Linked DNA regions of Homo sapiens: regions 1, 2, 3, 4, 5 and 7 are each linked to region 6. The links are contacts of gene promoters, found by promoter capture Hi-C in blood cells and fetal thymus (Javierre and others, 2016). All regions are on one chromosome and are shown on one strand. Each heading gives the region's core, a stretch centred on a gene start or on the middle of the fragment in contact. The rest is flanking DNA. Distances are from core to core; before and after follow the strand shown.

The links. The method cuts DNA at HindIII sites, captures the fragments that hold promoters and counts their contacts. A CHiCAGO score of 5 or more calls a contact.
Region 1: a fragment that was not itself captured here is called in contact with the fragment with the promoter of SPATA13-AS1 in region 6 in 1 of 17 cell types (naive CD8 T cells); the score reaches 6.3 in naive CD8 T cells.
Region 2: a contact is called between a fragment that was not itself captured here and the fragment with the promoter of SPATA13-AS1 in region 6, in 2 of 17 cell types (activated CD4 T cells and total B cells). The highest score is 6.7, in activated CD4 T cells.
Region 3: a contact is called between a fragment that was not itself captured here and the fragment with the promoter of SPATA13-AS1 in region 6, in 1 of 17 cell types (monocytes). The highest score is 7.3, in monocytes.
Region 4: a contact is called between a fragment that was not itself captured here and the fragment with the promoter of SPATA13-AS1 in region 6, in 2 of 17 cell types (naive CD8 T cells and activated CD4 T cells). The highest score is 6.5, in naive CD8 T cells.
Region 5: a contact is called between a fragment that was not itself captured here and the fragment with the promoter of SPATA13-AS1 in region 6, in 1 of 17 cell types (total B cells). The highest score is 5.1, in total B cells.
Region 7: a contact is called between a fragment that was not itself captured here and the fragment with the promoter of SPATA13-AS1 in region 6, in 5 of 17 cell types (M1 macrophages, monocytes, M0 macrophages and 2 more). The highest score is 9.5, in M1 macrophages.

Annotation. Positions count from the first base shown.
Region 1 is chr13:24,924,618-24,928,314 of GRCh38, forward strand. It overlaps a transcript of CPAP not described here. Among named protein-coding and RNA genes, the nearest start is that of CPAP, 3.6 kb to the left of the region's middle. The HindIII fragment of the contact is 5,023 bases long and covers 1-3,697 here.
Region 2 is chr13:23,386,519-23,389,926 of GRCh38, forward strand. All of the region lies in intron 2 of SACS (sacsin molecular chaperone), which reads right to left. Among named protein-coding and RNA genes, the nearest start is that of SACS-AS1, 31 kb to the right of the region's middle. The HindIII fragment of the contact is 2,903 bases long and covers 207-3,109 here.
Region 3 is chr13:23,572,560-23,576,032 of GRCh38, forward strand. The region is part of intron 1 of TNFRSF19 (TNF receptor superfamily member 19); the gene reads left to right. Among named protein-coding and RNA genes, the nearest start is that of TNFRSF19, 3.9 kb to the left of the region's middle. RefSeq lists enhancers at 1,652-1,821, 2,292-2,441. The HindIII fragment of the contact is 6,515 bases long and covers 1-3,473 here.
Region 4 is chr13:23,362,467-23,366,095 of GRCh38, forward strand. SACS (sacsin molecular chaperone) reads right to left here. Exons shown (of 10, transcript NM_014363.6): 6 at 2,700-2,811. Among named protein-coding and RNA genes, the nearest start is that of SACS-AS1, 55 kb to the right of the region's middle. The HindIII fragment of the contact is 3,544 bases long and covers 1-3,114 here.
Region 5 is chr13:23,421,393-23,424,627 of GRCh38, forward strand. The region is part of intron 1 of SACS (sacsin molecular chaperone); the gene reads right to left. All of the region lies in intron 1 of SACS-AS1 (SACS antisense RNA 1), which reads left to right. Among named protein-coding and RNA genes, the nearest start is that of SACS-AS1, 4.0 kb to the left of the region's middle. The HindIII fragment of the contact is 172 bases long and covers 1,890-2,061 here.
Region 6 is chr13:24,253,126-24,256,519 of GRCh38, forward strand. SPATA13-AS1 (SPATA13 antisense RNA 1) reads right to left here and starts at 1,314. Exons shown (of 3, transcript NR_046531.1): 1 at 1,211-1,314; 2 at 1-74. All of the region lies in intron 4 of SPATA13 (spermatogenesis associated 13), which reads left to right. The HindIII fragment of the contact is 5,552 bases long and covers 1-3,394 here.
Region 7 is chr13:23,459,600-23,462,813 of GRCh38, forward strand. No RefSeq gene overlaps it. Among named protein-coding and RNA genes, the nearest start is that of LINC00327, 8.3 kb to the right of the region's middle. RefSeq lists enhancers at 1,026-1,075, 1,605-1,774. The HindIII fragment of the contact is 5,614 bases long and covers 1-3,214 here.

The sequences.
Region 1 (3,697 bases), core at 1,163-3,662, 670 kb after region 6:
GGTTCCTATCCTTGTTGCATCTTCAGATGGTGCTGTAGAGAAAAATTAGACTAACGGTTGTGGCACAGGGGTTTTAATGCCAGATTACCCGTTCTGATACAATTCTTTATGCCATCATAGGAGTCAAGAGGGCACTCCTATGTCATGGTTAAGAGTCCAGGATTTATCAGGCAGACCTGGGATCAAATCCTAGCTTGATAACTTACAAACAGCTTTGTAGTCTTCAGCACTCAACTTTTCTGAAACCAGTCTTCTCATCTGCAAAACAGGGGTGGATAATAATGAGACCTTCATAGGACTGTCAAGAAGATTACATTAAAAGAAAGACTATGTATGAAAAAGTAGCAAAAAACCTCCACATAGTAAAAAGTCAATGAACAGGAGGTGTTTTCATCTTTATAAAGAATTTAACTGTTGGTGAACTCTTGTCTACCAAAGCCTAGCTCTGTGGGTCTTGTCAAATGCTGTGCCAGACACAGAATAATACTTATTGTATTCCCAAATTATTTGGAAATAATTCTTTTTCATTATTTATTTTTTTGGAGACAGGGGTCTCACTCTGTTGCCCAGGCTGGTCTCTAACTCGTAGGCTCAAGCAGTCCTCTCACCTTGGCCTCTGAAAGTGCTGGAATTACAGGCATGAGCCACTGTGCTTGGCTGGTAATAATTCTTTTAATCAAAGTTGATCTGAGTGACAAAGAGTTGACAGCTTTTCATTGCTGGTCTGATGGTAGCAAGTGTCCACTCTATCCAGAGAGGACATGTCAGGTGCAGTGGCTCACACCTGTAATCCCAGCACTTTGGGAGACTGAAGCGGATAATTTGAGCCTAGACGTTTGAACGTTAGCCAGGTATGATGGTGTGCACCTGTAGCCCTACATACTTGGGAGGCTGAGGCAGGAGGATCACTTCAGCCCAGGAGTTGAAGGTTATGATCACACCACGAGACTACAGCCAGGGCAACAGAGTGAAACCGCCAACTCTTAAAAAGAAAAAAAGTGGGGGAGGACATCAGGGCTAGCCTGGCCAAGGAATGATTCCTATAGATCAGTCAGAGTGGTGGGAGAAACTATAGGGAAAGGAGCAGACCTTCTGAAAAGTCGGAAGCCTCTGCATAGCCTCCAGGGAGAATAAGCTGAAGGCAGCTGTTTTCTGACCCTGAGGCAGAGGGCAAGGAGTAGGTACCAGGAAGCATAGGGGAATTTATCGTAAATAGGCTTGTTTACTTACATTGACCAGGAGCTGACCTTTGATCATCCACATGCGTGACCCGTTCCCTGAAAGGGGAACAATAATGTTAATTACCCACAGATTGTTTTTGCTCCAGGCTTTCAGCATTATGTCTATACTGAATAAAAGCAAGCAGCTCCAGCTGTTTGCCTGCTCACTCTTTGGCCGCTAGTGCCAAGCAGTCCCCTAGCTGCTCTTACACTGCATATCTGCGTCTGAGTACTCGTTTCATCCATCGTCCAGCCAGGGTCTGTGGGACAGACCCAGCAACTGGTGCCCTGTGTGAGGAATGCTGCAACAGATCACGATGGAACCCCCAAAAATGAGGTGAAGAGACTGTGCGGGAAGTAAGTAATTGGTGCCCACTCAGGATTTCCAAGTTTGAGGGAATTTTCAACCTAGGGTTTCATCATGGGACAACAGTTATCAGCTCAACAGCAACACTATATGTAAGTATTGAAACAGCTGCTTAAAGCTAGCAGAGCCTGGGTCTCGGAGGCTCAGTTAAGGGGCCTAATGCAAACTGTTGTTTTCAATAACCCATGGTTCCCAGAAGAAGGCACGTTAGACCAAGAACTCTGGGAGCAAGTGAGGGGAAATCTTAAATAACATCATGCACAAGGGAAACGGGTCCCAGTAACATCTTTAACGTTATGGGCCTTAATCAGGGCTGCTTTGGCCCCACTCTACACAAAAGAGCCTAAAAAGGAAAGGGAAGAGGAACCATCCACCTACCTGACCGCCTCCTCCTCCCTCAGCCCCACTGTTACTAGGTAAAGGTGCCACAGAGGAGACAGAGTTTCCCTGAGCCCCCTCCTCCAATAAATTGGAAAAAAAGACAAGGGATACACTACAGTTACGGGACCCTGTCTTAGGCAAGTGGCATTAGAAGGGGAGCTCTTGGCCTGCCCTGTGATGCAAGATCAACACGGCAATCAGGTATATGAGCCCATCACTTTCAACACCTATAAAGAGATAAGAAAAAGCATTAGAGAAAACAGAGCTGCTAGCCCATCTACAAAAGGATTAATTGAGGCCATAGCAGACAACTTCCTTATGATCCCATGGGACAGGTCAGTGCTAGCTCAAACAACTTTAGAGGCCAGTCAATACCTCCTCTGGATGGCAGAATATGATGAGTTGTGTGAATGACAAACCAACCAGAATCAATTGGCTGGGTAAAACATATGGGTCACTCAGAAACAGAAAATTGTCGGCACTGGAGAAGTGCACACAGCCAAGCAGAGTGCACGCCCTCTAAAGTCACGATTTGGAGGGAAGAAAAGCAACTATACAACCTCTAATCATGCCCATCCCTGTTCATCTTTGGGAATGGGACCTTATTAGCCCAATGGGGGGGTCACTATGCAGAGCCCTTTCTAATAGTGGCCACTGTTGTAAGTCCTCCCCTACCCCTGACATGGCTGTCTCAAGATCCAATTTGGGTAGAACGGTGACCTTTAAAGGGAGAGAAATTACAACAAACCCATGAATTAATTGAGGAACAATTAAAAGCCAGCCATATAGAACCAGCAGACAGCCCTTGGAATTCACCCATTTTTTGTCATTCCCATAAAGTCTGGTAAATGGAGAGTTCTGCATGACTTACAGGCTATCAATGCTAATTTGCAACCTATGGGGCCCCTTCCACAGGGGCTCCCTTCCCCCCGCAGTGATTCCTCGAGTTTTGAGTCATTATTGACTTAAAAGACTGCTTTCATACTATTCTCCTTGCAAAACAGGACAGAGAAAAATTTACGTTTACAATACCAGCTATCAATAATGAAGGCCCAGCTCCCTGATTTCACTGGAAAGTACTTCCCCAAGGAATGCTGAACAGTCCTACCATGTGTCAGTATCGTGTAAATAAGGCTTTGCTCCCCAGTAGAAAAGAATTTCCTAATTGCAAGATAATCCATTATATGGATGACATCTTACTGGCAGCCCCAACGGAGCCAATACTTTTGAATTTATATGCCTCTGTCAAAAAGAATACACAGTTAACAGGCTTAATCATAGCACCTGAAAAGGTACAGATGTCCTCTCCTTGGAAATATCTTGGATATATACTAACATCCCAGTCAGTAAGACCTCAGAAGGTTAAATCGAATACTAACAACAGGCTTGTTTACTTATGTTGACCAGGAGCTGACCGTTGATCATTCACACACGTGACCCCTTCCCTGAAGGGGGAACAATAATGTTAATTACCTGCAGATTGTGTTTTCTCCAGGCTTTCAGCATTATGTCTGTACTGAATAAAAACAGGCAGCTCCAGCTGTTCAAGACTACTCACTCTTCAGCCACTAGTGCCCAGCAGTCCTCTAGCTGCTCTTAAACACTGCATACCTGTGTCTGAGTACTCCTTTCATCTGTTGCTCAGCCAGAGTCTGCAGGACAGACCTGGCAGATCCCCAAGCCCAGGTGATCCGGGCTAGAAAGGGGAACTCCAGCAGGTTGGGGAGAT
Region 2 (3,408 bases), core at 408-2,907, 870 kb before region 6:
TATGGCTGGTTTGATCTTCTATCCAGACCACTCAAATTGATTCCTAATCAGTAATAAGGCTGTTTTGCTTTCTTATAGTTTCTGTATTCACTGGAATAGCACTATTTAATTTCCTTCAAAAACACTTCCTTTGCATTCACAACTTGACTGTTTGTCACAAGAGGCCTGGCTTTCCTGTCTTGGCTTTCAACCTGCCTTCCTCACTAAGCTTAGTCATTTCTAGCTTTTGATTTCAGGTGAGAGACTTGCAACTCTTCCTTTCACTTGAAGAGTTAGAGGCCATTATAGGGTTACTAGTTGGCCTAATTTCAATACTGTTGTGTCTTAGGGAAAAGAGAGGCTGGAGGAGAGGGAGAGAGGCAAGAACAGCCTGTTGGTAGAGCAGTGAGAGAACATACCGTTTATCGATTAAGTTTACTGTCTTATTTGGGCACAGTTCGTGGCACCCCAAAACAATTACAATAGTGACACCATAGATTAGTAATCACAGATCACCAAAGCAGATATAATAACAATGAAAATGTTTAAAATATTATGAGAATTTCCAAAATGCGACACAGAGACACGCTAACGGAGCACTTGCTGTTGGGAAAATGGTGCCAACAGACTTGCTGGATGCAGGACTGCTGCAAACCTTCGATTTGTTAAAAACGAATGTCGGCCGGGCGCGGTGGCTCACGCCTGTAATCCCAGCACTTTGGGAGGCCGAGGAAGGCAGATCACGAGGTCAGGAGATCAAGACCATCCTGGCTAACACAGTGAAACCCAGTCTCTACTAAAAAACACAAAAAAAATTAGCCGGGCATGGCGGCGGGCAACTGTAGTCCCAGCTACTCAGGAGGCTGAAGCAGGAGAATGGCGTGAACCCGGGAGGCGGAGCTTGCAGTGAGCAGAGATCGTGCCACTGCACTCCAGCCTGGGCGACAGAGCAAGACTCCGTCTCAGAAAAAAAAAAAAAAAAAAAAAAAGTCTGTGAATGAAATAAGGTATTCCTGGACTTGCCATTCTAAGGGCTTCACTTTCACTACGAAGCTGGAAGACCCTGTAGAGATAAGCTGGTCCCCTGGTCACCCTGACCGTTTCTTTTTGGTCCTCATAGACGGCTGGTTTTTAAACCATTTATCTGGGAAGTTGCCATTCACCTGTGTAGGGTGGTGGTTTGAGTTCAGGTGATGCAGCTTCTGTGATATCAGGAGTTTACCCAATGGACAGCATGGTGCAGAGAATTCAGTTCCTTAGCAGGAACTTGCAACTTAATCTGTCCCTTAAACTTTTTTATTACAACATGATCTATGGATCCAGAGAATATGGCGGTGAGGTACTATTAAGTAATAATGTGTGTAATCATCAGAGAAATGCATATTAAAACCACAATGAGACACCACTGTACCCCAGCCAGAAAGGCCATTATTAAAATGTCAAAAAACAATAGATGTTGGCATGTATGCGGTGAAAAGGAACACTTACACACTGCTGATGGGAATGTAAATTAGTACAACCTCTACGGAAAACAGTATGGAGATTCTTTAAAGAACTAAAAGTAGATCTGCCATTCAATCCAGCAATCCTGCTACGGGGTATCCACCCAAAAGAAGAGACGTCATTATATCAAAAAGACACCTGCACACATATGTTTATCACAGCACAATTCACAATTGCAAAGATATGGGCCGGGAGCGGTGGCTCACACCTGTAATCCCAGCACTTTGGGAGGCTGAGGCAGGAGAATGTCGTGAACCGGGCAGGCGGAGTTTGCAGTGAGCCGAGATTGCGCCACTGCACTCCAGCGTGGGTGACAGAGCGAGACTTTGTCTCAAAAAAAAAAAAAAAAGAAAAAACAAAAGATATGGAACCAATCGAAGTCCCCATCAACCAATGAGTGGATTTAAAAAATGGTGTGTGTGTATATATATATATATGGTACATATAATATAAAATATATATAAAATATAAAAATATGGTGTGTGTGTATATATATATATATATATATACACACACATACCACAGGCTACTACTCAGCCATTAAAAAAACAAACAAATAAAATAATGTCTTTTGCAGCAAATTTGGATGGAACTGGAGGTCATTAATTCAAAGCGAAGTAACTCAGGAGTGGAAAACCAAATATAGCATGTTCTCACTTATAAGTAGGAGCTAAGCCATGGGTACACAAAAGCATACAGAGTGGTACAGTGGACACTGGAGACTCAGAAGCAGGGAGGGTGGGAGGGGGTTGAGGGATAAAAAACTACATATTGGGTATAACGTGCGCTACTCAGGTGATGAGTGCACTAAAATTTCAGACTTCACCACTACACAGTTTATCCAAGTAACCAAAAACCACTTGTATCCCTAAAACTATTAAAAATAAATAAATAAATTTAATATAGTATTTCAGGGTGATAAAATACCAAAGAATCAGAAACCAAAAGAAAGTATCATTTGCAAATACCAAATTTTAATCCATGTATTCAAAAAATACATAACATGAGTTTTCTATGGACAAGGCATGGAGCTGAATGTCTTACATTCTTTATATATTTATTAATAAGATTTTAAATGGAAACTTGTATGTGTCAATTACCAAAGACACACCCATCTGTTAATTACTCCTTAGTACCCTCTACCATTTAGCTAAAACATATATGTGTGTGTATATATATATGTGTGTATGTGTGTGTGTGTATATAGCCTGTGTATATATATAGCCTGTGTCTTTAAGTTACAGGAAGGCTTTAAATAGTTACTGTGCTCCTGAAATGATGTGAAAGGTTACAGCTTTATTAAGTTGCCCAATACTTATTAATGCAATTTTAGAGTTGGTTTTATAACTAGGAACTGAATGTCTACTAATCAGCATGACTACAAAATAAAATTCAGAATTGTAAAAAAATATATATATATTAGTAACATGTGGATATAAAGATGATTTATTTCTGCCCACTGACCAGGGTCACTGGAAAAGGCAAACACTTAGAAAGTCGTCTTTACATCCACGTTACTAATTTTACTTAATATGGTATCTGCAAAGTACATGTGCTCTACTTGCCAAACTTCAACCTCCGAATTTAGAAAGATCTTATTCTGTGTCTCAGCTGAAAGTCTGAGCTAAGCTTTCTCTAATTTAAAAAAAGGACGGAATACGTGTACAAGGGATACGTAGTACATGATTCTCTTTGAAGGACACATTTGCTTCCATCCTCTATGCAGATAAAAGAACAAATTACAATGTCTAAAATCTGTTCTTTTTGTATTCTGCATTTAGCCATCATTTTCTTCTACTGTGAGAAGGATCAGTTCTACTCTTTCTGCTTTTTGCTTCTTTTTGCAGGGAGTTGGGGGATGGACAAGGGAGCATTTTAATTTTACATCAAAATGTCAAGTTATTTGGCTGCATCTACATATGCCAG
Region 3 (3,473 bases), core at 342-2,841, 680 kb before region 6:
CAGCACAAAACAAAGGGGAGAATTAGCAATTATCTGATTAATTTAGGCTTTGTAGAAAACTAGCTTGGGCAAGTCAAGTCCTTGAAAATCCACTTCAGTGTTTGAATTAATTCAGTTAATTGTTTACTTCTAGTGTCATTGTTGAGAAATGAAATAGAGTGTATTTGATTTTAAAATAAAGATGGTTGTATCTGAAGGTACAGGTACAGTCTCAAAAGGCATTTCCTAATTAATTGCCACAAAATGACTTTGGCAGATATAGTCCTATTACTTCTACTGAACAAAACCCTTATGTGACATTTTTCAAAGCACTTTCCTATCTGTTGCTTCAATGGCAGCTTTGTTACTACAGAAAGTCCAAGTCTTCAAAAGACTTTTATGTTGAGTCCTGATACTGTCACCAATTAGCTATATGACCTCAAGAGAGTTTCCTCATGTGTGAAGTGAGGGAGTTGATCACATCATCTTTATGAAATAAGCAGAATTGGAATTTTTATGGCCATTTTACAGATGAGGAAACTGAGGCTATAGAAAACGAATGTCCCTATCTTAACAAGGTCACATGGCTGATTTTCCCAGTTCTAGTCCAATGTTCTTTCCAGTCTACCATGCAGGGTCTGCTTTCCAACAACTGCTTAAACAAATGCACTCTGTAGCTCATCAAAGAACAATATTAGTTTGAAAAATAAAGACAGCCACTTCCTATTGTAGTGCATTTTTTTTTTGTTTCCATGATAGATATGTCAGTCAGCTGGATTCGTCTGATTATTTTCCAACTGTTCCTTCTACTTCTGGACTTCTAAGCTGTCTAAACACAGTAGCTGCTACCCATAATTTAACATAATTTAACACGTAAAATAATTTTCACAAAAAGTTTAATGCATCAATGTGATGTGGAATTATATATGTATTTGTGTGTTTGCCTCTGTGTGTGTGTGTACATACGAGTTTGGCATTATATCAACACATATTTGTGTGTTTTGAAGGAATTGATATTTTCTTAGATGATGCCAGTGGCATCCAAAAACAGTTTAATAATTAAAGGTTAATTTTCCTCCAGGGAAATTCCCAGTGGGATTCTGTGAAACTTCAGTTGACAAACTCAATGTGCATTTCAAACATGATATGATATGTGTTTCATATCATGTTTGATTATGTTAAGACTCTTGAGCATGTTTTCATTATCTCTTTGCTTTTCTTCCTTGAAAAAATATATCTTGGGGCCAGGAGCGGTGGCTCACGCCTGTAATCCCAGCACTTTGGGAGGCCGAGGCAGACGGATCACGAGGTCAGGAGATCGAGACCATCCTGGCTAACATGGTGAAACCCCATCTCTACTAAAAATACAAAAAATTAGCCGGACAAGGTGGCAGGCGCCTGTAGTCCCAGCTACTTGGGAGGCTGAGGCAGAAAAATGGTGTGAACCCGGGAGGCAGAGCTTTCAGTGAGCCGAGATGGCGCCACTGCACTCCAGCCTGGGTGACAGAGTGAGACTCTGTCTCAAAAAAAAAAAAAAAAAAAATCTATCTATCTATATCTTGTGTGAAAAATTTTAATTTAGTTACTAATAAAATTTTATACAAATACAGGACTCTCATGGCCAAACAACTGCCCTCATAATAGGGCTTATCACCCTCTTTAGGATTCCTACATATACAAGATTATTACTAACATGACCTAATATTTATTAATTCACTCATTATCAATTAATTCAATATCAAGTACTTGTGCAAGGATAAATAACATGTGCAAGATTATAGGAATAATTCAGTGGCAGCATTGTGATCTACATTTTTTTTGTTCTGGGGCTAGGTGATTCATTCTTTTTAAGAATTACACAAAGCTGAACTTGACTGTCAGCAAACATTATAGCCAAAATTTTGGCCAAAAATATGGGCTCCAGTTTTTTTTTTTCCTTTTATATATTTTGTAAGAACTATTAGACATTTTTAATAGTATTTTCTGTCAGGATGGCCATAAAGGACCTCCCTAAGCCATGAAGGCATAATCTGTTCTCCCTCTGCTTCAGGAGTGAACTGAACTCAACCATCTGGCATTGGTTTAGTCGGATTCTCTTTCTGTGATGGCAAGGCCAGTCCAAGCCACCCTGGAAGAATGAGTGATTTTGTCCCCTTTAAAGGATGGTTCTTTAAAACGTTGTCCACCTGGGTGAGCTCTGTGATGGGAGGGCAGAGGGAGGCTCCCTGGTGGCTGTGTTGGCTGTGCTTTAATTTCTCCTCTACTGTCACTAGTCATTCAGCTTTGGCTCCAAAGTTGTTACCTCAAACCCACCCACTTGCCAAAATCAATACTCACTTCTTTAGATTAAGTAGGTAGTTTAAAACCCTCCTTTGTGACTTAAATTTTCTCTTTGATGAGAAGGGGAAGGAGAAGTCATGTGGGGGTTTCCAATGACTTCATAAAACCATTCCTTCCAACATAACCCACTGTCTTTGAGAGGAGTTCTGATAAAGATAGTTTTCTCCATCCTGTTAAATGCCCCCCATTCTTTGGTGGCTCTATAGCTTAGCACCATGGGCTGCTGCCCAGCCAGCCTGGCCTCAAGCCAGCCCTAGGTCGGGGAGTCCACCATGTTCATCAGGAAGGAGAGAAGGAGAGTCAATGGACTGTCTCTTCCCTCATCGAACTCATGAAAAGGGTCTAGCCAATGAGGTACTCAGGGCCAAACTCACAAAGATCAGTGCAAGTGCTGCAACTTGTAACAACTTTGCTCTGTAAGTGTCTTGAGCTCCACTTACAGGAGGGGGCTATAAAAATAGCCTCCTTGGGTTTTTCATATATATTGGTTTACGCACCCATGGTATGGTGAAGATTATGTTAAGATACAGAAAGCCCAGATTCTGATTCCAGCTTTGTTAATTAACTTGGTGTGCAGCATTCAGGAAGTCACTGGGCATTGGCCTCACGGTGCTCCCTCAGCCCCATGCTGATAGTCTATAATTGGCAGTAGTGGGTATCGGGAATTACTTAAATAGCTAGGTCTTGGGGGTTCCTCCTCCACTTATTTTCTTAACTGTATTTGGAAAACTTTATTACTCTTTGAGATTCTCACTCTCAATTACTAATTCATCCAACAAATTTTTAATGAGAACTTACTATGTGCCAGAAACTGTAAACCAAAGAGACAAAATTTCATATTCTCCTGTAGCTTGCATTCTATTCCACTTTTTTCCCAAGGAATAGTGATTTACACTAGAAATGACTAGAAGTTAGGCAATTTTTCATTAGCTTTGCTACCAGCGAGCTAATTTATCACTGAAACTATTCTTTCAGGGGTTTTTCAAGTTTTCCTTAGTTCAACTTTTGGGGAAAAATATTTTAAACAAATGCACTTTGTGTCAGCTCAGATATTGCTAAAACTATCTTCAGAAAACTAACTTTTAACATAAATCTTAAAAACAAACACCTCTATCAAGATTGTCATAGCAATTTTGCTTTTCCAGTAAAAATTT
Region 4 (3,629 bases), core at 93-2,592, 890 kb before region 6:
TGAATGCAAGAGAAAGATATTCTCAAATACACAAGAGCCTGGAGGGCTCTCAATAAATGTTTGTTAAATAAAGAGATCAGAGATCACTGCCACCTGCTTTTATATAATACATTCCTTTTTTTTTTTTTTTTTTTTTTGAGATGGAGTCTCACTCTGTCACCCAGGCTGGAGTGCAGTGGCAAGATCTCGGCTCACTGCAATCTCCACCTCCCAGGTTCAAGTGATTCTCCTGCCTCAGCCTCCTGAGTAGCTGGGATTACAGATATGCATCACCACGCACGGCTAATTTTTGTATTTTTAGTAGAAACAGGGTTTCGCCATGTTGACCAGGCTGGTTTCAAACTCCTGACCTCAGGTGATCCACCTGCCTCAGCCTCTCAAAGTGCTGGGATTACAGGCAGGAGCCACCATGCCCAGCCTGCATTTATTTCATTTTTTATTTATGTATGTATTTATTTTTGAGACAGAGTTTCGCCCTTGTTGCCCAGGCTGGACTGCAATGGCACAGTCTCAGCTCACTGCAACCTCTGCCTCCCGGGTTCAAGGGTTCTCCTGCCTCAGCCTCCCAAGTAGCTGGGATTACAGGTGCTCACCACCACGCCCAGATAATTTTTGTATTTGTATTAGAGATGGGGTTTCACCATGTTGGCCAGGCTGGTCTCAAATTCCTGACCTCAGGTGATCTGTCCACCTCAGCCTCCCAAAGTGCTGGGATTACAGGCATGAGCCACCGCACCTGGCCTACATTTATTTTTTACTTACTTATATATTTATTTTTGAGACACAGTTTCGCTCTTGTTGCCCAGGCTGGACTGCAATAGTGGGGTCTTGGCTCACTGCAACCTCTGCCTCCCAGGTTCAAGCGATTCTCCTGCCTCAGCCTCCCAAGTAGCTGTGATTACAGGTGCCCGCCACCACACCTGGCTAATTTTTGTATTTTTAGTAGAGACAGGTTTCAACATGTTGGCCAGGCTGGTCTCGAATTCCTGACCTCAGGTGATCTGCCCACTTGGCCTCCCAAAGTGCTGGGATTACAGGTGTGAGCCACCGCACCCAGCCCACGTTTATTTTAAATTGGCCACTTTTAAAGAGCCTATCTCTAAATATACCTATGCATAAACTCGCAAAATAATCCAGTTTCAAATGTTTTTTAAAACAAGGTGAAGTCAAGGCTAGAAGCAAAAACATCATAGGCTCTCCTTACACTCTTACCTTAGCAGTTCCACAGCACATACCGTCATCAGTATGATACCAGGTATAAAACATTATCACATATATTATCTCATATAATCCTCAAACTATGTGGGAGAAAGATTTTCTCATACCACTTGCAGGCAAGCAGTAAGTCAGTGTGAGGGTCACAGCTGCCACTGAGTGTAACAGTGCCTGGGGGGCAGTACAATGGGGTAGTACTGTGTAGGATTAGGACTTAACCTGAAGTCTCTTGAATCCAATGTTACATTAAGTCACAGGCTCTTAGAGACAAGATACCTTGCAGGCTAATCCTCTTATTATAAAAATGATCTGACCTCTGTGATGACTGGCCCAAGTCACTAAGGTAGCAGCAGTCAGGACTAGAACGCACACCTCCTGATGTTATGTCCCACACACCTCTTTTTATAGAGTATAGAAAGTACAACTTTCAAGTGACAAATGTGAGCTAAGAATGACTATATGAGACATAACAAATGCTAGATATTTAACTAAATGTTAACTGGCCTCCTAAATCATAAAACATCTTTTTAAAAATACATGACTTAAATCTCTTTAAAAAGGTGTCTCAGAAGGTCTGACTTGATCCCACTTTTTCTCAGTAACTTTCTGTCACATACAGTCATTGACAATGACTTCAGAGGTATACTAAATTGAAGTGATGTGATCTCGGCTCACTACAACCTCCGCCTCCCGAGTTCAAGCGATTCTCCGGCCTCAGCCTCCTGAGTAGCTGGGATTACAGGCGTCTGCCACCACGCCCAGCTAATTTTTATATTTTTAGTAGAGACGGGGTTTTGCCACGTTCGCCAGGCTGGTCCCAAACTCCTGACCTCAGGTGATCTGCCCACCTCAGCCTCCCAAAGTGCTAGGATTACAGGCGTGAGCCACCGCACCCAGCCAGAGGTATACTACAATTTATGAACATTCTTTTTGACACCAAAGCTCCCCGGAGTAGAAGTGAGATATTAGGAGTCTATTGGTTAGGGTTCTTATTGGATTAATAATTTATTAGTTTATGGCTTTCTTATCATGTTTCCTTTCATTTTCCTTGTTCTCTCCTCTCCTTCAATCTTTCTTCCCACCCAACTTCCAAACAATGTCGAGGGTACTCCTAAAGCGGAAAATACACAAAAGCATGGCCTTTCACAACATCTTTCCAAATGCAGGAAAGTGTTACTATACATAAATGGTGTCCCTTTATCCTACTGATAATATAAAATACAAGTTGTTTGAATAGAATAAGAGGCTTTGGTCATTACATTGCTTGTCATTTTGAGTTTTCAGATTTTATTCTTTGTTCTCTAAAAATACCAACTGGTGGAGACACCTTCCCACCAAAAGCAGAGAAAAACATCTGAAGAAGTGGACATAAACATGCCAAAAAGTACAAATGATAGACTGTTCATTAAACAAAGCATTATTAATCATTAAAAACTGCCTGTTAGTGCATACAATAAAATTTGTTCCTAATTATTGATTCTTACCCTGATATGGCGCCATATCTTTTGACCAAAGAGTCTCTGTTCCGTATTGAGTTTCATCATATAAAAATTTAACTTCTGTCGCCCCAGCATCTTCTGCATTCTGAATTAATTCCTAACCAAAAAATATACCAAAAAATAGTAATTAATAACACAGTAATCTACTGCTCATCTTTGTATTTATCTATAATATTTAAGAAGTTAATATACTTAAATAAAGGAAACCCACTATTTGCAACATTACCTTTAAGATCTGGTGAGGCTACTACTGAAAGTAATTGTTACATAGATGTGACAGTATGGTTGAAAAGTCCTTCTCCAATTATTTGCACTTAAATTTTGTCTTTTAATTTGCTATCACTTAGCAAATTAATCCTGGGCCCTATTTATAACTGTCTCATATTTACAATCTACCCAAAGCTTTTGTTCAAAGGAAATTATTCTATTTCCAAAAGCTGCACATATCGTCCTGTGTGGCAGGTAACTTAAGCTTGAGTGATTGCCAAAAATAGACCTTTTTTATCCTTTGCTTACTAAACTTACCTTTCCACAGAAAAACAATAAAACCAAATAGTAGCAATCTATATATACCCTTCAATTGGCTGCTTTCTTGAGAGCCTGAGATATAAAAATGTCTTTGTCCTGCACTAAACTGAAAGCTTCCAGATGGTCAGGACTGACTCATTCCTTTCATCAAGAAGAAAGCACTACCATTTGTTTGGTGAATGGTGGGTGAGTGGAAGGGTGACCAGCTCCCCGTAATGTAGAAAGGAAAGGGCAAACTGCAAGATTTGCCTCAACAAAATTTCCAATCCTAACAACCCCAATCACTTCTGCACACCTACTAAAATCACGCTGGGCTCCGTTCAGTTTGAAGGGAGCTCCAGAATCTGAATCAAGAATCAGCTCCTAGATCCAACCCCATGATCATCA
Region 5 (3,235 bases), core at 726-3,225, 830 kb before region 6:
GATTGACATTCAGCTGGGGACTGGGTATCTACCAGGGACCTGGGTATCCACCTCAAGCCTATTGTACTCCTGGAACCTGAGTATTTACCTGGGGTCTGATATGCACCCAGGCCTGTTGCCTACATAGTGTCTTATGTTCCCCTTGAGCCTGAACGTCCGTCTGAGTCCTCGGTATCCTCTGTGGGATGGCTGTCCACCTGTGACATTGTGTCCTGCTGTGGCACGGATGTGAGCCTGGTGCCTGATATACATCTTAAGTCCAGTGTCCACCTGGGGCCTGATGTTGACCTGGGGACTGATGTCCACATGGGAACTGGGCATCCACCTGCGGCCTGATGTCCACTGGGAACTGGATGTTGCCCTGGGGTCAGGGTATCTACCTGGAGCGTGGTGTTCACCAGGGGCCTAGGCATCCACCTGGGGCCTGTAGTCTACCTGGGGCTTCCTGTCCACTGTGGCCCTGGTATTTACCTGGGGCCTGGACATCCACTTGAGGCCTGAAGTTTAAGTGGGGCCTGGTGTTCAACGGGGGCCCATGTGTCAACTTGGGAACAGACATGCACCGAGATGCCTGATATCCATCTGGGGCCTGGTTTCCACCTGGGGCCTAGTATTTACCTACGGCCTGGGCGTCCACCTATGGTGTATTATCTAAGTATCTAAGTAACAACGTTTGAGAGGTTATTAGGCCTATATATGAACATGCTACTAACTAGAAAAAAGTTATGTGCAAAGGAGCTTTGTGATGTACCTTATTATATTGTTGAATGGAACGTAACTTTTCATTAAACAAGTTCCTAACACATTTTATAGAATCTAACAAATGAGATTTCAGAGGCCTATATATAAACATGAAAATTCAGCCCAATAACTAAAAACAAGCCATGTGAGAAGAAGCTTTGTGATGTGCTTTATTATATCACTGAATGTAACCTGTGTTTTTATTAAAGAAGTTCCAAACACACATTTTATCGTTTTATACAACCTAAGGAATGACATTTCAGAGGCTGTTAGGCCCACATGTGAATATACAAATATTCATCCTTAATAACTAAAAACAATCTGTGCATGAAGAAGCTTTGTTATGTGGTATTTCAGATCACTGAATGAATGGAACCTGTGTTTTTATTAAACAAGTTCCAAACACACGTTTTATAAAACCTAAGGAATGACATTCCAGAGGCTATTAGGTCTTATGTGAATATTTGAATATCCATCTCTAATAACTAAAACAGTCTGTGTGCAAAGATGCTTTGTGATGTGGTGTTTCTTTTTTTTTTTTTTGAGACGGAGTCTCACTCTGTCGCCCAGGCTGGAGTGCAGTGGCACGATCTCGGCTCACTGCAAGCTCTGCCTCCTGGGTTCACGCCATTCTCCTGCCTCAGCCTTTGGTGTTTCATATAACTGAAAGAAACCTGTGTTTCTGTTAAACACATACTAGAAACATGTTTTGTAGAATCTAACCAATGACATTTCAGACATTGTTAGGCCTATATATGAACATATGAATATCCAGACCTATTAACTGGAAAAAAGCTATGTGCGAAGAACATTTGTGATGTGCTTTATTATATCACTGAATGAAATGTGAGTTTCCATTAAACAAGTTGTAAAAACACGTTTTGTAGAACCTATTTAATGAGATTTCAGAGGCAATCAGGCCTATATATAAACATATGAAAATCCAGCCTTAATAACTAAAAACAAGCTATGTGAGCAGAAGCTTTGTGATTTGCTGTTTTATATCAATGAATGGAACCTGTGTTTTTATTAAACAACTTCCAAGCAGACGTTCTTTAGAACCCAGGGAATGACATTTCAGAGGCTATTAGGTCTATATATGAATATACGAATATCCATCCCTAATAACTAGAAACAATCTGTGAAGAAGCTTTGTGATGTGCTGTCTCACATCACTGAATGGAACCTGTGTTTTTATTAAACTAGTTCCAAACACACATTTTTTAGAACCTAAGGAATGACATTCCATAGGCTATTAGGCCTATGTATGAATATACAACTATCTATCACTAATAACAAAAAACAATCTATGTGCGAAGAAGCTTTAGGATGCACTGTTTTATATCACTGAATGGAACAAGCATTTCTGTTAAACAAGTTCCAAAAGGACGTATTGTAGAATCTAAGTAATGACATTGCAGAGATTATTAGGCCTCTATATGAACCTACTAATATCCAGCCCTAATAACTAGAAACAGCTATGTGCAAAGAACATTTGTGATGTGCTTTATTATATCGCTGAATGGGACGTGAGTTTTCATTAAACAAGTTCCAAACACACATTTTGTGGAATCTAATTAATGAGATTTCAGAAGCTATTAGGCCTATATATAAACTATTAGGCCTATATATAAAAATACGGAGCCTTAATAACTAAAAGCAAGCTATGTGTGAAGAAGCTTTGAGCTTTGGGATGTACTATTTCATATGAATGAGAAGAACCAGTGTTTTTGTTAAACAAGTTACAAGCACTCATTTTTTAGAACCTAAGCAATGACATTTCAGAGGATATTATCCTATATATGAATATACGAGTATCCATCCCTAATAACTAAAAACAGCTTTGTGATGTGCTGTTTTATATCACTGAATGGAACCTGTGTTTTTATGAAACAAGTTTCAAACATGTTTTGTAGAATCTACAAAAATGACATTTCAGAGGTTATTGGGTTTATATATGAATATACACATATCCACTACTAATAACTAGAAACAAGCTATGTGTGAAGAAGCTTTCTGATGTGCTTTATTATATCACTGAATGCAACTGGAATCTCCATTATACAATTTCCAAACATATGTTTTGGAGAATCTAAGAAAGGAGATTTCAGGCCGGGCATGGTGGCTCACGCCTATAATCCCAGAACTTTGGGAGGCCAAAGCGGGCAGATCACCTGAGGTCGGGAGTTCGAGAGCAGCCTGGCTAACATGGAAAAACCCCGGCTCTACTAAAAATACAAAATTAGCCGGGCATGGTGGCGCATGCCTGTAATCCCAACTACTTGGGAGGCTGAGGCAGGAGAATCACTTGAACCCGGGAGGCGGAGGTTGCAGCGAGCCGAGATCACGCCACTGCCCTCCAGCCTGGGCAACAAGTGGGAAACTCTGTCTCAAAAAAAAAAAAAAGGAAATGAGATTTCAGAGACTATTGTACCTACATAGATTTTCAGCCCTAATAATGAAAAACAAGCTATGTGAGGAGAAACTTTCTGAT
Region 6 (3,394 bases), core at 64-2,563:
GTGATATGTCCACCACCTGGTGGTACTGGAACAGGAAGAAGGGTGGGGTGTCTGTCTCCAGGGACCCTTGCCTTCTATATGTGAAGACAGGCCAAGTAAGTATTTAACAGAGCAGACAGTACTATAAAGAAAAATAAAACAGGATAGAGAGCATTCATTTCCAAAGAGTGTTATTCTAATGACACTCTAATGAACAGGATGCACCTGTTCCATGAACCCTCTCTCTCTTCCCTAGAAGGAGACACCCAGATCCTCATCAGTGGCAGCAGACACCTCCAAGTCTAGGACCTCTTAGGATAACTAGTCCTCCAGTTCCATGCAGTGCCTCTTCAGCGTTGATTAACTAGAGGCAGATTTAAGCAACACATCCCTACCAGAATGGCAAGGCAGGGAAAGGAAGGAAATAGAGAATTTGGGATGCTGTGGAGAATAAAACGTCATGCAAAGTTTACATTTCAGCATTTGAACAGATTCCATAAGTCAATATGTAGGATGCACCAAGGCACCAGTGACGGCCCTGCAGAAGATGACTTTGGGTAATGTGAGGAGTAGGAGCAGGTGGGGGAGATAGCCTCCTCTCCAAGGAGGTGACGCTGGGGACAGGTGAGTAGGAGGCAGTGAGGCAGAGATCCGAGGGAGGAGAAGTCCTAGCCGAAGGAGCACCAGAAGCCCAAAGACAGGCAGGAAACATGATGTGTCTGAGGTTCAGCAAGGAGGCCACAGTGACAGGAGCTCAGGGAGCAAGAGGCAGACGAGGATGTTGCAGGCTGGGAGGTGGGCTGAGGCTGGAAAGGGCTCTGCAGGTCATGAGGAGGCTGAGCTTGTTCTAAGTGTGGTGTGAAGCCATTGGCAGCAGGAGCATATTATGTTCCGGTTTATGCTTAGAGAGGGAGGGCAGTTTGTGGGGGGAAAGGAAGAGGAATGGAGATTGATTTGAAGGCGATTGCATTAGTCCATTTGAGAAATATGGTAGCAGTGACCACAAAAGCCATCCCCATTTTCCGTGGGTGCTCATTTTCCCAGTGGTACGAAGAGGCAAAAATGGCCAGCCTTGGTTCTGATTCACTGTGGCCAGGACTGTGAACTCTGGAGGAAGTACTTCTCCCTTGGGCACTAAATTCAGTTTCAACAGAGCAGAGTTCCTAGGTGGGAAGAAAACATTTTGCAAGTATATTATTAAGTAATCCTAAGAAGCCGCTTCTATGTTTACCCTTGGTTTCCGGCCCTGCATCTTCTGCTGTGGGCCAGCCTCTCCAAATTAGTCACTGCTTCAGAGCTTGCGTCCCATCCAGGGCAGTATGGCAACTTCTGGGTGTGTCTCCCAGCTGCCTCTGTAACTTCATTTTTATTTGGTTGTTATTGGGTGTGATGGGGTCATGTGCTTCCTTCTCTGTGACGTTCTGGGCCTGGATGGCGTGTGAGATGCTGCGACAGGATAGGGGCCTTCTAGAGGATCCACAGAGTGCAGGAAAACAAATCCAAGCCCAGCATAAGTGGCCCTTCCAGTAGGGACAAATCACCACCCCCTCTATTATGAAAAGGCCCCACTGCAATCAGCTTTCCGCAAGGGGCTGTCTGGTTCCTGCGGGGAACCGTATCATCAGCTTTGTTGAGGGGAAGGCCCAGACTTCCTGTGGTTTAGCCCAGGCTTGGCATCCATTTTTGCCACCATGGCCTTTTTCTTGCTTGCTTCTTTTTTTTTTTCCTTTTTATGAACCCACTGAGCAAGTATCAAGATGACTAGGAAGGAAGACTGGCATCTAGCTGCACATTGGGACAGCATGTCCACATGATGATTGATTAGCCTCTCTTGCAATAAGGATTCATGTAGGATGGACATCATCTCATGCTCTGCGGGTATTCTGAGGTAGCCAGTTATACTCCTTCCCCAAACCCATCCTCAGCCCATCTTGTTCTTTCCACATTCCTCCAGGCCATTCAGCCAGGCCATTAGCTCCTAACCAGGAGTGCGCACGAGCTAAATCCTTGCCTTGCCAAAGCCATCTCTCCTACTCAGAAAGGCTTGGGAAGAGTATTGCTTACATTTGCCGCCGGGAGTTTCCCTGTCCTGAGGACACAGTCACCAGGCTGATGGTAGGAGTTCTCTTTGAGAAGCTAGGAAGAAGACTTGTAGTAGGATGCCTACCCTGAGGCTCCCTGGCTCTGCTCCATCAAGAGGCCTGAGTCTGGGAGTTGAGTGAGGGCCCTCCCTTGTCTTCTCTGTCATGGTGGCTCAGGTCGGGCTCTGCTTGCCAGCCCTGGAGAGTTCCTCCTACACAATGTTGTGGTACCTTTGTGGAATCACTCATCTGTTTTGTTCCTGGGGACCCCGAGATCAGTTAACAGCACAACCAGAGATTTCACAGGTCAAACCATTCAGATGACCAAGCTGGCCCTGCTGTGTGGTATAGTAACTATGCCCACCTTTTTCCCATGACAGATGTCCCACCCCCATGGAGGACCAGGTTTGCATTGCAGTGGAACCATCTCTCAGCAGCATCTCTGGCCTAGAGAGATTAGCAGTACATTAATTATAAAAGCTGCTGTCACATGGGAGATGCAGCCCAAGGGGTGGTGAGACTCACATGATAGACCATCTCTAGCATTTCCATCCCAGTCCTGGAACTCCTTCCTTTCTATGCACTGAGGGTTTTAGGTTTATATACCAACGAAGTGCTAGAATGGCATCCAGCTCAGTAAGCCCACAAATTGAGCTCAGCAAACCAGCTGTAAAAGCATCATTTTGAGACACGTTGGGGAGATTTTCAGATGAACTGAATATTTGGCAACATGAAGGAATTATTTTTAATTTTGTTAGTTGGGATAAGATAGTGCAGTTATTTTTAAGTCCTTGTTTGTTATACACAGATAGTGAAATACTTTCTGCATAAAATATGATATGTGAGATTTGTTTTAAAATACTCCAAAAAAGTTGGTGGGAAATAGTTGAAACAATATTGGCAAAAGACTGATAATCGTGGGTTCATGGTATTATCTGCTTTTGTGTGTATTTGAAATTTTCTGTAGTATCAACTTTTAAATAATAATGAAAGTATATTTCTCCTCCCTGGTCAAGTATTCTCAAAATCTTGATAACCAAAGGTTGGTAAATGGATATAAAAATAGAGCTAGACAGGAAGAATAAGTCCTACTGTGCCACAGTTAATGACAATGTATTGTATAGTTCAAAATAGCTAGAAGAGAGGATTCAAATGTTCTTAATACAAATAAATGATAAGTGCTTGGGGTGATGATATGCTAATTACCCTGATTTGCTCATTCCACATTGTATACATATATTGAAATATCACACTGTACCCCATAAATATTGTACAATTATTATGTGAGTTTAAAATAATAATATAAAAAACTCTCCAAATTAAGTAGTATCCAC
Region 7 (3,214 bases), core at 597-3,096, 790 kb before region 6:
AAGATTAGTATTTGAATCAGTAAACTGGGTAAAGAATATCTGCTGTCACCAAGGTATCATCCAATCTGTTGAGAGCTCAGATACAACAGAAAGGCCAAAGAAGTAAGAAGTGAGAATCTTTCTCTCTCTCTCTCTCTCTCTCTCTCCTCCCTCTCTCTCCCTCCCTCCCTCTTCCTCCCTTTCTTTCTTTCTTTCTCCCACCCTCCCCTTCTCTCTCTCTTTCTCTCTCTCTCTCAATTTCCCCTCTCCATCCTTGAACTGGGACATCCATCTTCTCCTGCCCTTGGACATCAGAGCTCCTGGCTCTTGAGCCTTTGGACCCTGGGACATACACTAGCAGAGCCCCCACCCCCGCCCCATTCCCAGGCCTTCACCTTCAGACAGAGCGTTACATCATTGGCTCCCCCAGCTCTCAGGCTATCAGGCACAGACTGATTCACACCACATTTTTCCTGGTTCACCAGCTTGCACATGACAGATAATGGGCCTTTTTGGCCTCCATAATTATATGAGCCAAATCCCCTCTTTTACATATATGTATAGACACACACACACACACACACACACACACACACACACACACACACACATATATCCTATCAGTTCTGTTTCTCTGGAGAACCCTGGATAATACGAACACAATCTCATTTAATCCTCACAGCAAGACTGAGTTATTTATTTACATTATTGCTTCTTTCCAAATGAGGAAATTGAGGCTCAGAGAAGTTGCATGGCTTAGCCAGTCACACAGCTGGTAAGTAGAAATAAGATATAATTTTTCTGATTCAGATTTCAATATTCTTTTTTTAGAACCATTGGTCTAAGGTCTATCCTGTGCAATAATACCAAGCATGTCTAATTCCTCTTTTCTGCAACAGACTTTCATATAGTTGACCACAGATGTCAAGTGTCCCATAAGCATTTCCTATTTCTCACAAATATGCTCTGTTCCTTGCATCAAGAGTCATTTGACAAAGTTTCTACACCCCACAGCACCCTCACCTCTCTTCTAAACAGAGCAGTTAGTTTGAAAACTCGAATATAAAGACAATACTTTAGGTATGGCCAGCCCAGCACTAAGGAGAGCACAACTGTCTTCTTCATCCTCTAGTGTTATACACCCAGTAATTCAGCCTGAGCACATGATGTCCATAGCAATATGTTAAGCTACACATTAGGTGATCGCAGGTCTCACTTTGCCCAGGACAGTCTCCAATATGCCTGTTGTCCTGGCTGAATTGTTAATGATGCTCTTGTTTTACTCTTGAATGTCCTAGTTTGGATGACAATTGCATGGTCTCCTTACCTATTAGGAAACATAGCGTCAACCACTTCCTTCCTACAGTTGCTGTTGCTTAGGCTTGTCTTCTTGGGATAAAATTTGGACATAAGCAACAAAAACAAAAAATCTTAAATGTATCCACCTGCTTGAATCCAGCCTATATTATACTGCACGAATGGTCCCAGTTCTTCCGTGCACTCTGTCCTGCTTAGCTTTGCAGAGCCCTCACTCTGCAGGGTGGTGTCATTCTCCAGCCTTCACCATGGCCATGTGACTTGCTTTGGCCAATGGAAAGTTAAGAGTTATGAGATCATACACCCCTGAACAGTGTTTCCATGACTGGACTTGGATGCATATGCTTCCGCCATCACCATGAGAAGGCTGTGTCTGGGATGGCCGCTGTGCCCTGAGAGGAGGCTGAGAGACACATGGAGCACAGGTGCCCCAGCTCAAGTGCCCCAGCCTAGAGCTGAGATCAGCTGACAATAATGAGTGCTGGTTTAAGCCACTGAGTTGATGGTGGATTTTTTAAGGCATCTATACACAGTCTAGCTGCATACTACTCCAGATTCCCAGGCTTTGGGTATCTGACCCTACCATCCAAGCTACCATCATCCTAAATGTAAAGAGTATGTATGCCATACACATACTCAAGTCCCTTTTAAGCCGTTGAATAGGATAGGGCTGTTCTGTAACCCTCATGGAACAGCTTTCCAAATTCATAATTCAATCAGCAGTCTAACCAGACCAGTTAGTTATAATAAATTAATAATTGCTGACTTTTATTGAGCACTTACTATTTGCAACGCCCTGTCTTAAGCATGTGGTATGAACTATCTCATTTAATCCCCTTCACTCTATGAGTCAGATGATATAATCCCTATTTTATGATGAGCACAATGGTGAACACATGGCCTGAGGAACATACCCAAGTCACACAGCTGTGAGTGCAGCTGGGGTCCTCCCTGACAGCAGCACCTTCAATCCTGGGCACCTCATTCCCACCCATCGAATGCTGACCACATTCCAGGAGAGCCTGGCACATGGCTTTGGGGGAGTTGAGAATCAGTCTCAATTCTTAGTGGGATATCACTCACCGAAAAGCAGTCAGTGTGATATAAATAAAAAGAACATGAGATTTGGAGATAGCCAGACAAATGTGGGTTCACATCTGGGCTCCAGCACTGACCTACGGTTGTCTCCTTAATCTCTCTGAACCACACTTTGCTTGTCACAAAATGAAGGTAAAAATGCTAACTTCACATGGTCGTTTAGACTGTATAAAGCTCCTGGCTTGGAAAATTAGCCAGTTTCAGGAGATATTTGCTCTCCTCCCGGTCTTAGGTAAAAATAGGGTTGGTCCAACATCTTGCCCTGTGGTGTGTGGACGTGCTAAAGACTGCACTCAGGCCCTCCCTTGCTGGCCAGGCCATGTTTTGTGTTTATGAAACTAATTGTTTCACTGACTTGCACTTGTTGCTACTGACTCTTACACTGCATATTCAGGTCATTGCGTATTCCAAAAAAAGAATTCAGTCCTCTCCTTGAGCTAGCTAAGTGAAATGAAAGATAAGGCATTACTTCCTCTGAAAAACAAAATTTGGAAATTGAAAAACAAAACAAAGAAAACATTTTAAAAATTCTAATTAGAAGAGGGAATGGAAACTCATTTTCCAATTTTGGAAACCACTTCGTCATTTTGACACTAAATGTAGAAATGAACTCAACTTTGGAGCATGTAGGACCTCAGATCTCTACCACTGCAGATACTAGTAGCTGCGTTGTGCCCAGATAGCAATATAGGTAATGATTACAATCACAGGCTTTAGACCCAGAGACTCCAAGGAGGCTTATTAGCTGTAGGACCCTGGAATGTTTATACTTCGATTTACTCACTTGTAAGACAGAAATTACAATAATGCCACCTCATCT